3 separate regions of the Homo sapiens genome follow, and regions 2 and 3 are each linked to region 1. The links are contacts of gene promoters, found by promoter capture Hi-C in blood cells and fetal thymus (Javierre and others, 2016). All regions are on one chromosome and are shown on one strand. The core of a region is centred on a gene start or on the middle of the fragment in contact, and the rest is flanking DNA. Distances in the headings are between cores, read along the strand shown.

What was found. The method cuts DNA at HindIII sites, captures the fragments that hold promoters and counts their contacts. A CHiCAGO score of 5 or more calls a contact.
Region 2: a contact is called between a fragment that was not itself captured here and the fragment with the promoter of FPR1 in region 1, in 1 of 17 cell types (fetal thymus). The highest score is 9.2, in fetal thymus.
Region 3: a contact is called between a fragment that was not itself captured here and the fragment with the promoter of FPR1 in region 1, in 5 of 17 cell types (naive CD4 T cells, fetal thymus, total B cells and 2 more). The highest score is 7.9, in naive CD4 T cells.

The regions. Positions count from the first base shown.
Region 1 is chr19:51,750,453-51,753,878 of GRCh38, reverse strand. It overlaps FPR1 (formyl peptide receptor 1), which reads left to right and starts at 2,001. Exons shown (of 2, transcript NM_002029.4): 1 at 2,001-2,065. The HindIII fragment of the contact is 1,877 bases long and covers 931-2,807 here.
Region 2 is chr19:53,610,367-53,613,450 of GRCh38, reverse strand. It overlaps a transcript of DPRX not described here. Among named protein-coding and RNA genes, the nearest start is that of DPRX, 20 kb to the left of the region's middle. RefSeq lists enhancers at 1-700, 701-1,694. The HindIII fragment of the contact is 2,689 bases long and covers 223-2,911 here.
Region 3 is chr19:53,659,392-53,662,713 of GRCh38, reverse strand. All of the region lies in intron 2 of LOC107985342 (a long non-coding RNA gene), which reads right to left. Among named protein-coding and RNA genes, the nearest start is that of MIR512-1, 5.6 kb to the left of the region's middle. RefSeq lists enhancers at 594-1,483, 1,484-2,373. The HindIII fragment of the contact is 172 bases long and covers 1,262-1,433 here.

The sequences.
Region 1 (3,426 bases), core at 752-3,251:
CTTCATACCTTGGGAATCTTCTAAAATGCATCTGTTGTTATGATCCCAAGAAAATGTTTATAAAATACAAACACAAATGTTTATAAAGTACAAATGAACATATCACCCTTCTGATTAAAGATCTTCAGTGATTCTCCATCTCATCCCCATCCTCCTGGTGTGGGATGCTGGAGTGTAGCAGTCCCCAACATTTTTGGCACCAGGGACCAGTTTCATAAAAAACAATTTCTCCATGGGGTGGCGGGGTAGATGGTTTCAGGATGATTTAAGCACATTGCATTTATTGTAGACTTTATTTCTATTATTATTATTACATTGTAATACACAATGAAATAATTATACAACTCACAATGATGTAGAATCCGTGGGAGCCCTGAGCTTGCTTTCCCGCAACTAGACAGTCCCATCTGGGAGTGATGGGAGACAGTGACAGATCATCAGGCATTAGATTCTCATAAGGAGCACACAACCCAGATCCCTGGCATGCACAGTTCACAGTAGGGTTCACACTGTTATGAGAATCTAATGCCGCCACTAATCTGACAGGAGGCAGAGCTCAGGCAGTAATGCCAGCAATGGGGAGTGGCTATAAATACAGATGAAGCTTCTCTTGCTCACCTGCCAGTCACCTGCTGTGCAGCCCACTTCCTAACAGGCCACAGACCGGTATCGGTCTGTGTATTGGTCTATGGCCTGGAGGTTGGGGACCCCTGCTGTAATGTGAAGTCAGGAGCTGTGGTAGCTTTCTTGGAGCCATGAAGTGGCAATCCCCAGGAAAAAAAGTCACCATATTAGGGATAAAAAAGAGAAAAGATTAAAATGAATGTAGTTCTTGATGATATTTTCCAGATATAACCTAACCTAGTATTACCCTCTTGCAAAATTCTTGTAAAGTAAACCATAAATTTCGTCTTGGTTCTAAGCTAAGCTTGTCCAGCCCATGGCCTAAGATGGCTTTGAATGCAGCCCAACACAAATTCATAAACTTTCTTAAAACATTATCAGATTTTTGGGGGATTTTTTTTTTTTTTTTTTTTTTTAGCTCATCAGGTATCGTTAGTGTTAGTGTATTTTATGTGTGGCCCAAGACAATTCTTCTTCTTCCAGTGTGGCCCAGGGAAGGCAAAAGATTGGACACCCCTTGTTGAAGCCATTGTTAGGTGTAATTGTAAATTATAAATTACTTAGAATTAAAAACAGCCCGGCTCATGCCTGTAATCCCAGCATTTGGGGAGGCTGAGGCAGGAGGATCACTAAACCCAGGGGTCTGAGACATGCCTGGGCAACGTAGCAGGATACTGTCTCTAAAAGAAAAGAAAAAACAGTCTTAATGCAACAATGCCTTGGTAATAATGCTTTTAGAATCAGTGTCGTTATCTCTGATTCTGTAACTGTCTTACCATATTTCTCCATATCACTCTGATACCCTTGGAAGGATGCTTAACATTTCAGAAAAACGGTTATTTCTTTGGGCTAGAAGACTACAAATGAGCTTCCACAAGATCAGAGGATTATGGGGTTAATCTTGGTGGTGTGCATGGGTGTGGACGCGCTGTCCTGCCAACTGTCTCAACTTCCCCCACTCCCTTACCTCTCTCTGTGTTTCTGGTCTCCATCCCTCATGACTTCTTCTCTTCCTTTCATTGCCTCCCTCTGATTCTTCTCACCACAGTGCTTGCTGCTTTCTTTACCTTGACCCTTGGAGGGAGCAGGGGCCCGGACACTTGGATTTCTTGGCCCTTGTTGTTGAGAGCACTGAACCTCTGCATCCCACAGAGACTGAGGCTGAGAAATACAGTCAGGTACATGAGTTTCTAAACAGGCCCAGCCCACTGTCCTAATGCCATTAAAGCAGACAGTATATTGGTGTATTCTTGGGGCCATCAAAAATCAGAAGAAGCTCAGACTTCCTATTTCCTGCTACCCAGCTGGTTTTAGTTCCTTTACCCCTCCTCCTGTTCCTTGGTGTATGTTTTGCTGCAATCATTAGAGCCTGAGTCACTCTCCCCAGGAGACCCAGACCTAGAACTACCCAGAGCAAGACCACAGCTGGTGAACAGTCCAGGTAAGAAACATATTCTGGGGGACTGGGTAGCTTGACATAGACACACTTAATACACTGGTGAACACAATAGACTCTTTGTTTGAAGAAGGATGTGGAGTTGAAGAATAATTTTTTTAAAGAGGTTCTAAACAGGCCGGGCACGGTGACTCATGCTTGTAATCCCAGCACTTTGGGAGGCCAAGGCAGGTGGATAACTTGAGGTCAGGAGTTCGAGACCAGCCTGGCCAACATGTTGAAACCTCACTTCTATTAAAAATACAAAAATTAGCCAGGCGTGGTGGTGGGCGTCTGTAATTCAAGCTACTTGGGAGGCTGAGGCAGGAGAATTGCTTGAATCTGGGAGGTGGAGGTTGCAGTGAGCTCAGATTGCACCACTGTACTCCAGCCTAGGTGACAGAGTGAGACTCCATCTCAAATAAATAAGTAAATAAATAAATAAACAAATAGGCTCTAGACTTTATTGGGGTCCTGATGGGAATGATGGAATATAGAGACACTATGAGGCTGCAGGAGAGAGAAGGGATAAGTGAAGGAGGGAAGTTCTTGAGTAAATGGGGGAATGAGTTTTATGGGACCAGTAGAGGGTAATTCTTGGATGGAAACACTTGTTTTCTGGTTACAGAGATGAGGGCAGAGAACAGTGATGCAGGAGCCAGCAGGAGGAGAATCTGGTGGAGCAAGAGGCAAGGGCATCAGCTTGAGGGCTTGAGTCGGGATGGGAAAGGATGTTTGGTTTGAAGCTTTCAGGAGAAAGCAAAAGAGCCCTAACGACTTTATGATGGGTCATGGGGAAATGAGTGTAATACAGAAGCAGTCACCTTTCGGATCAGTGATGAGTCTCCACGTGAAGACACTGGTTCTGCATGGTGCATAGGACCCAGTAGCGGAATACAGCCCTGCCCTCTCATGAATCTGCAGACATTGGCTGTCATTTCTCATCAAGCTCCTAGTTTCCTCTTCCGTCACACAGGGATGATGATGTATAATCAATGCTGAGTTTGTTGAGATCAGAGGCAAGAAAGTTGAGGATGTGGTACAATGATTATCAAGCATAAAGTCCTTCATCGATGGCAGCCACCAAGGCCTGTGTTCATTGCAAATCACAGGATTTTTCCCTTGAACCATAATTGGACAAAATTGCACAGGTTTTCCTCTCTGGTATGTTCCAGCTCATTATTGCAGAATCCTCATCATTCATTGCAACAATCTTCTGAACTGGTTGCCTTAGAGATTCTTGAGGACAAAGAGTCCTCAGGGTATTTTGGTGGTTGGATGGGTGGTAGGGGAGGGAGACATCTCTGAGTTGTTTCTGAGATTGTAGAGTATCAAAGTTCATTAGAAATGTGAGACACATATGTAAT
Region 2 (3,084 bases), core at 318-2,817, 1.9 Mb before region 1:
GCTAGAACCTGGGAGGTGAAGGTTACAGTCGAGCTGAGATGGTGCCACTGCACTCCAGCCTGGGTGACAGAGCGAGATTCCATCTCAACAACAACAACAAAGATCTCACACGTGACAACGTGCAGTGACCTCCCCCCTCCTCTTGGACCCCATATGTGAGCTGTTGATTTTGGTCTTTGAAATACATAGATCCACAAGAGTTTGACAGGCGCTTTGAAAGCTTAGACTGTGGCAGGCTAATATTGGGGCTCAGAAACCGATAACCTCAAAACAAAGGCTTCCGAAGCAGCTTCAGAAGCGGAAGTTTCTTCCTGACCCTCCTTCTCCCCCAAGGCTAGCCATAGAAACTAGAAACTGTCTTTCCCAAAGTGAGCCATAGACACCAGAATCCCTTTTCCCCAAATCCTGCCATAAAACCTAAAATCTCTGACTCTAATTTTCCCTCCATCTTCCCTGTAAACACTGACCATAAAGGAATTCCTGTCCTATCTTGTTTGGTTTTAGGTCTATGACCCTCATTCCAGAGAGGCTTCTGCCCTCTGCCCAGCAGGAGGGAAGGCTGCTCAGAGAGGCCAGGAGGAATGCAGAGAGACAGGTTTGCTGGGTTCCCCGTCCGCCCGACCCCTGCAGTCTATGACCTTTAGATCAGATCCATTTTGTCCAATCCTATTTCTTTTCTTTCTTCCTTTTTTAAAAATATTCTTTAACATAGAGAGGGGGTCTTTTTTTTCTTTTTTTCTTTTTGAGACCGAGTCTCACTCTGTTGCCCAGGCTGGAATGCCGTGGCACAATCTCAGCTCACTGCAACCTCCGCCTCCCGGGTTCAAGCCATTCTCCTGTCCCGGCCTCCCAATTAGCTAGGATTACAGGCGCCTGCCAGCATGGCCGGCTAATTTTTGTATTTTTCATAGAGACGAGGTTTCACCATGTTGGCCAGGCTGGTCTCGAACGCCTGACCTCAAGTGATCCACCTGCCTCGGCCTCCCAAAGAGCTGGGATTACAGGCGTGAGCCACTGCACCCGGCCACGTCCAATCCTATTTCTATGCTGCTGTCTGCTTTTTTGTGTTTTGTTTTTGAGACCGGTTTCACTCTGTTGTCCAGGCAGTGGTAGGATCATAGCTCACTGCAACCTCAACCTCCTGGGTTCAAGCCACCCTCCTGTCTCAGCCTCCTAACTAGCTGGGACTACAGGTGTATGCCACCATGCCCACTCATTTTTAAATTTTTTGTAGAGATGGGGTCTTCCTATGTTTCTCAGGCTGGTCTTGAATTCCTGGGCTCAAGCGATTCTCCTGCCTTGGCCCCCCAATGTGTTAGTGTTTTACAGGCGTGAGCCACTGCACCACCCAGCTTACTTTTTTTTTTGAGGTGGAGTCTCGCTCTGTCACCCAGGCTAGAGTGCAGTGGCACGATCTCGGCTCACGGCAACCTCCACCTCCCGGATTCAAGCAATTCTCCTGTCTCAGCCTCCCGAGTAGCTGGGATTACAGGCGCCCACCACCATGCCCGGCTAATTTTTGTATTTTTAACAGAGACGGGTTTTCACCATATTGGTCAGGCTGGTCTCAAACTCCTGACCTCAGGTGATCCACCTGCCTCGGCCTTCCAGAGTGCTGGGATTCCAGGCGTGAGCCACTGCGCCCAGCCAGTTCACCTCAAATTTGAATTAGACTTTACTTTTCACATAGTCCTTCCTCCATCCTGTGAGCAACAGGACTTTAAAAATTTGGAACTCACTCACTATTCGGTTAACGTACTTTGCCTACAGAGTGCATTCTATGAAGTGTGTTCGTGTTATTCTTCTCCTCCTTAAGCATTGTCAATGTTTTTTTTAAAAATCTCTTTTTATGTCAATAAACTGTGGAAGGCATGAAATCGTACCGCAATCATCTCCTTATTTCCACCATAAATATTAGGGCCAGGCGCGGAGGCTCGTGCCTATAATCCCAGAACTTTGGGAGGCTGAGGCGGGTGGATCACTTCAGCCCAGGAGTCCAAGACCAGTGTAGGCAACATGGCAAAACCCCATCTGTACCAAAAATACAAAAATTATCTGGGTGTGGTAATGTGGGACTATAGTCCCAGCTACTCAGGAGGCTCAAGTGGGAGGATGCCTTGAGCCTGCTGCACTCCAGCCTGAGTGACACAGCGAGACCATGTCTCAAAAAAAAATTTAAAAAAATTATCATGAGAGCACTTTTTGTCTTGCAAAAAGGATTTTTTGTTTTTTTTAGAAGGTCACTTTGTGGCTGGGCTCTGTGGCTCGCGCCTGTAATCCCAGTGCTTTCAGAGGCCGAGGCAGTTGGATCACCTGAGGTCAGGAGTTTGAGACCAGCCTGGCCAACATGGTGAAACCTTGTCTCTACTAAAAATACAAAAATTGGTCAGGCATGGTGTTGGTTGCCTGTAATCCCAGCTACTTGGAGGCTGAGGGAGGAGAATCGTTTGAACCTGGGAGGCGGAGGTTTCATTGAGCCGAGATGGTCCCACTGCACTCCAGCCTGGGAGACAGAGCGAGACTCCATCTCAAAGAAAAACAAGAACAAAACAGCGTACAGTGCTCTGTCTGAAGGTGGCCTCCTTATTTGTCTACAATCAGTGGTGTCCAATCTTTTGGCTTCCCTGGGCCACATTGGAAGAAGAAGAATTGTCTCCGGGTACACATAAAATACACTAACGATAGCTGATGGGCTGAAAAAAACCCAGAATCACAAACAAACTCGTAATGTTTTAAGAAAGTTTCTGAATTTGTGTGGGACCACATTCAAAGCCATCCTGAGCTGCAGGCAGCCTATGGGCCGCTGGTTGGACAAGCTGGGACTCCACATCAGCCCTTGCACCTGCCCCCGGCAGAGCTCCAGCTTCAGGTGTGTTTCTTCACTATAATTTACTAAACCTGCAGCTAAGCTTTCTAAGTGGCAATATTTCACTTAGGGTGGTATAAAATTAAAACAGCCAATGAAGGGAACTTTTTTCTTATTTGATACATAATAATTGTACATATTAATGGGGCACGTGATATTTTGATACATGAATGGAGTAGGTAATGATCATCATGTCACGGCATCTAGGATATCCAACC
Region 3 (3,322 bases), core at 98-2,597, 1.9 Mb before region 1:
AAGTAATCCACATACCTCGGCCTCCCAAAGTGCTAGCTCACTTCAGCCTCAACCTCCTGACCTTAAGGGATCCTCCCACTTCAGCCTCCTGAGTCAAAGTTGTTGGGATTATAGGAATGAGCCACCACACCCAGCTACGTTTTTTTTCAATTTTAGATCTCCTCGTGTTACCTAGGCTGATCTGGAACTCCCAAGCTCAAGCAATCCTCCCATCTCAGCCTCCCAAAGTGCTGGGATTACAGTCCTGAGTTACCACACCCAGACAATTACTGGAAGAGTCAATGTTGTCACCACTCCCCAATTTCTGTATGTAATTTCCTCCCAACCAGGATACCCTGCCCCCTCCCCTCAAAGTTCCTCCACTGGGCCAATATCCTTGCATCTATTCAACTCACAATTTTAAAGTCACGTCTTCAAGAGGAAGCCAGCACCCTCGTACCCAGGTGATGGCCCCTGTCACGGCAGCCTATAAACCTACTCACAGTACAGTACAATTGACGTGGAATCATCAGTTGCAATAATTATCTGTGCACGCCTTTGCTTAGTATTTACCTTCCTGGGGTTTATAACACACCCATACGCATGTGGAGGACAATCATTCTCCCCTCCCAACGTGGTCTAAGTGTTTGTGAAAGGTAATACTTTCCTCAGTTTGACTCCAGACTGGAACCTTGCCTGGCCAGAGCCAGGTCCTCAAAATGAACATTAATTGGAATATGAAGAAATAACAAAGAATGGGCAGGAGGCAGAAGGGCATCAGGACAAATAGCTAATGGCTGTGAGGCTTAATACCTAGGTCAATAGGTTCAGCAAACCACCACGGCACGCATTTACCTATGTAGCAAACCTGCACATCCCGCATGTGTATCCCAGAACTTAAATTAATGAAAAAAGAAAGAAAGAAGTAACAGAATGAGGGCCTGGCGCAGTGGCTCACGCCTGTAATCCCAGCACTTTGGGAGGCTGAGGCAGGTGGATCACCAGGTCAGAAGTTTGAGAACAGCTTGGCCAACATGGAGAAACCCCATCTCTATTAAAAATTAAAAAAATAAGCCAGGTGTGGCGGTGGGCGCCTGTAATCCCAGCTACTCGGGAGGCTGAGGCAGGAGAATTGCTTGAACCCGGGAGGTAGAGGCTGCAGTGAGCGGAGATCGCGCCATTGCACTCCAGTCTGGGTGACAGTGCCAGACTCCGTCTCAAAAAAAATAAATAAATAAAAGAAAGAAAAGAAAGAAAGAACAGAATGAACAAGCCAAAAGCTTTTTAATGCAAATTTGAAAGCTAGTGGAGGGTTTGGGAAACCAGACAGGCCTGCAGGGATCAGGGCTATTTCAGGGCTGATTTGCAAGACACTGAACTTTACCCTAATTCTATAGTCACCCCGCCCCCTCCAAACACCCCTAAATACAGGCGAGCGCTCTCTGAATGAAGCTTTCTTTCTCTCTTTTTCCAAATACCCAGCCTTCAAAGAGATGAATGGATTTCTTTGTGACACTCTATTTACTGTTTTAGAACCTTCACTCCCTAAACTCTTCATTCTTCCTGAAAATCTTTTATGGATCATCTCGGGGCTGTAATCCCATTCTGTGGAGAGCAGGAAGTTTTTTAAAAGGTCCCCAATCACTTTTTAGCCGGGGGGCGAGGAGAAACCAAGGGAAGTTGGGAGAGAGAAATTCTTCCTTTCTTTTTTTTTTTGAGACAGGGTCTCAACTGCCTCCCAAGCTAAAGTTTACTGGTACAATCAAGGCTCACTGCAGCTTCAACCCACTCCTGGGTTCAAACAGTCCTTCTACCTTTGACTGCCAAGTAGCTGGGACTACACCATGCGTCTGTAATTTTTTTATTTTTTGTAGAGACGGGGGCAGGGGGGAGGGGTCTCACTATGTTGCCCAGGCTGGTCTTAAACTCCTGGGCTCAAGTGATCCGCCTGCCTTGGCCTCCCAAAATGTTGGGATTACAGGCGTGAATCACCTGAGCTCACCTCAGCTTTAATACTGAATATTAAGCTCCTTGAGAAGTTGGATGTATCCATTTTGTCCACCAAGGCATCCTGATACTTAAAAGGATTCCATGTGTGTTTTCAGTTCTGGGTTTAGAATGTCTTCATCTACATGAGGAAAACCACCTCCACTTCCTGTATTTGTCTCAAAAGTCACCTTTGATTTGGTGATTCCTCAGAAAGTTAAATATCACTTCAGTTAAGTTTAGGGGGGAAAAAGTTAAACACAGAATTACAGAATGATCTACTGGGCGCGGAGGCTCATGCCTGTCATCCCAGCACTTTGAGAGGCTGTGGCGGGCGGATCACGGGGTCAGGAGTTCAAGACCAGCCTGGCCAACATAGTGAAACCCCGTCTGTACTAAAAATACAAAAAATAAAAAAAAAATTAGCAGGTTGTGGTGGCAGGCACCTGTAATCCCAGCTCCTCACTGCAGGAGAGTCGTTTGAGCCCAGGAGGCGGAGGTTGCAGTGAGCCAAGATCACACCATTGCACTCCAGCCTGGGAGTGAGACTCTATCCCACCCCCAGCAAAAAAAAAAAAAAAAAAAAGGAGGAATTGCAGAATGATCTAGCAATGTCACCCCGGGTATATCCAAAAGAAGTGAAACAGGGTCTTTTTTTTTTTTTTTTTAACTTAGGGCTACCTCGTCTCTCCAGTAAAAAGCAGGGTTTGGGCCAGCGTGGTCGCTCATGCCAGTAATTCCAACACTTTAGGAGGCCAAGGCGGGTGGATCACCTGAGGTCAGGAGTTCAAGACCAGCCTGGCCAACATGGTGAAACCCTATCTCTACTAAAAATACAAAAATTAGCCGGGCATGGTGGCACGCGCCTGTAATCCCAGCTCTTCAGGAGGCTGAGGCAGGAGAATTGCTTGAACCTGGGAGGCGGAGGTTGCAGTGAGCCGAGATCACGCCACTGCACTCCAGCCTGGGTGACAGAGCAAGACTCTGTCTCCAAAAAAAGTTTGATTTGGTACTATCACGGAGATCATAATTTAAAAAAAATTATATATATATATATATATATATATATATATATATATATATATATGTATACGCACAATTACAAATAAATAAATAAATAATAAAGTTTGACTTTTTCCCCAACTGACATTTGACTTCATATAATTCAGTTCCATTTAAATGACTTCAGAAGCTTCTAGGCTGTGGAAAGGGGCTCCCTCTCCTGGTTAAGATCTGCCAGCTCTTACAAGTTCCTTTTCAGGTCTACAAACCACTCCGCCCTTGTGCAGCCGTCACAGCCCTCCCTGCTTATCTCAAGACAGACTCTAGGTTAACTGGTGAATAGAGCTTTACTGAG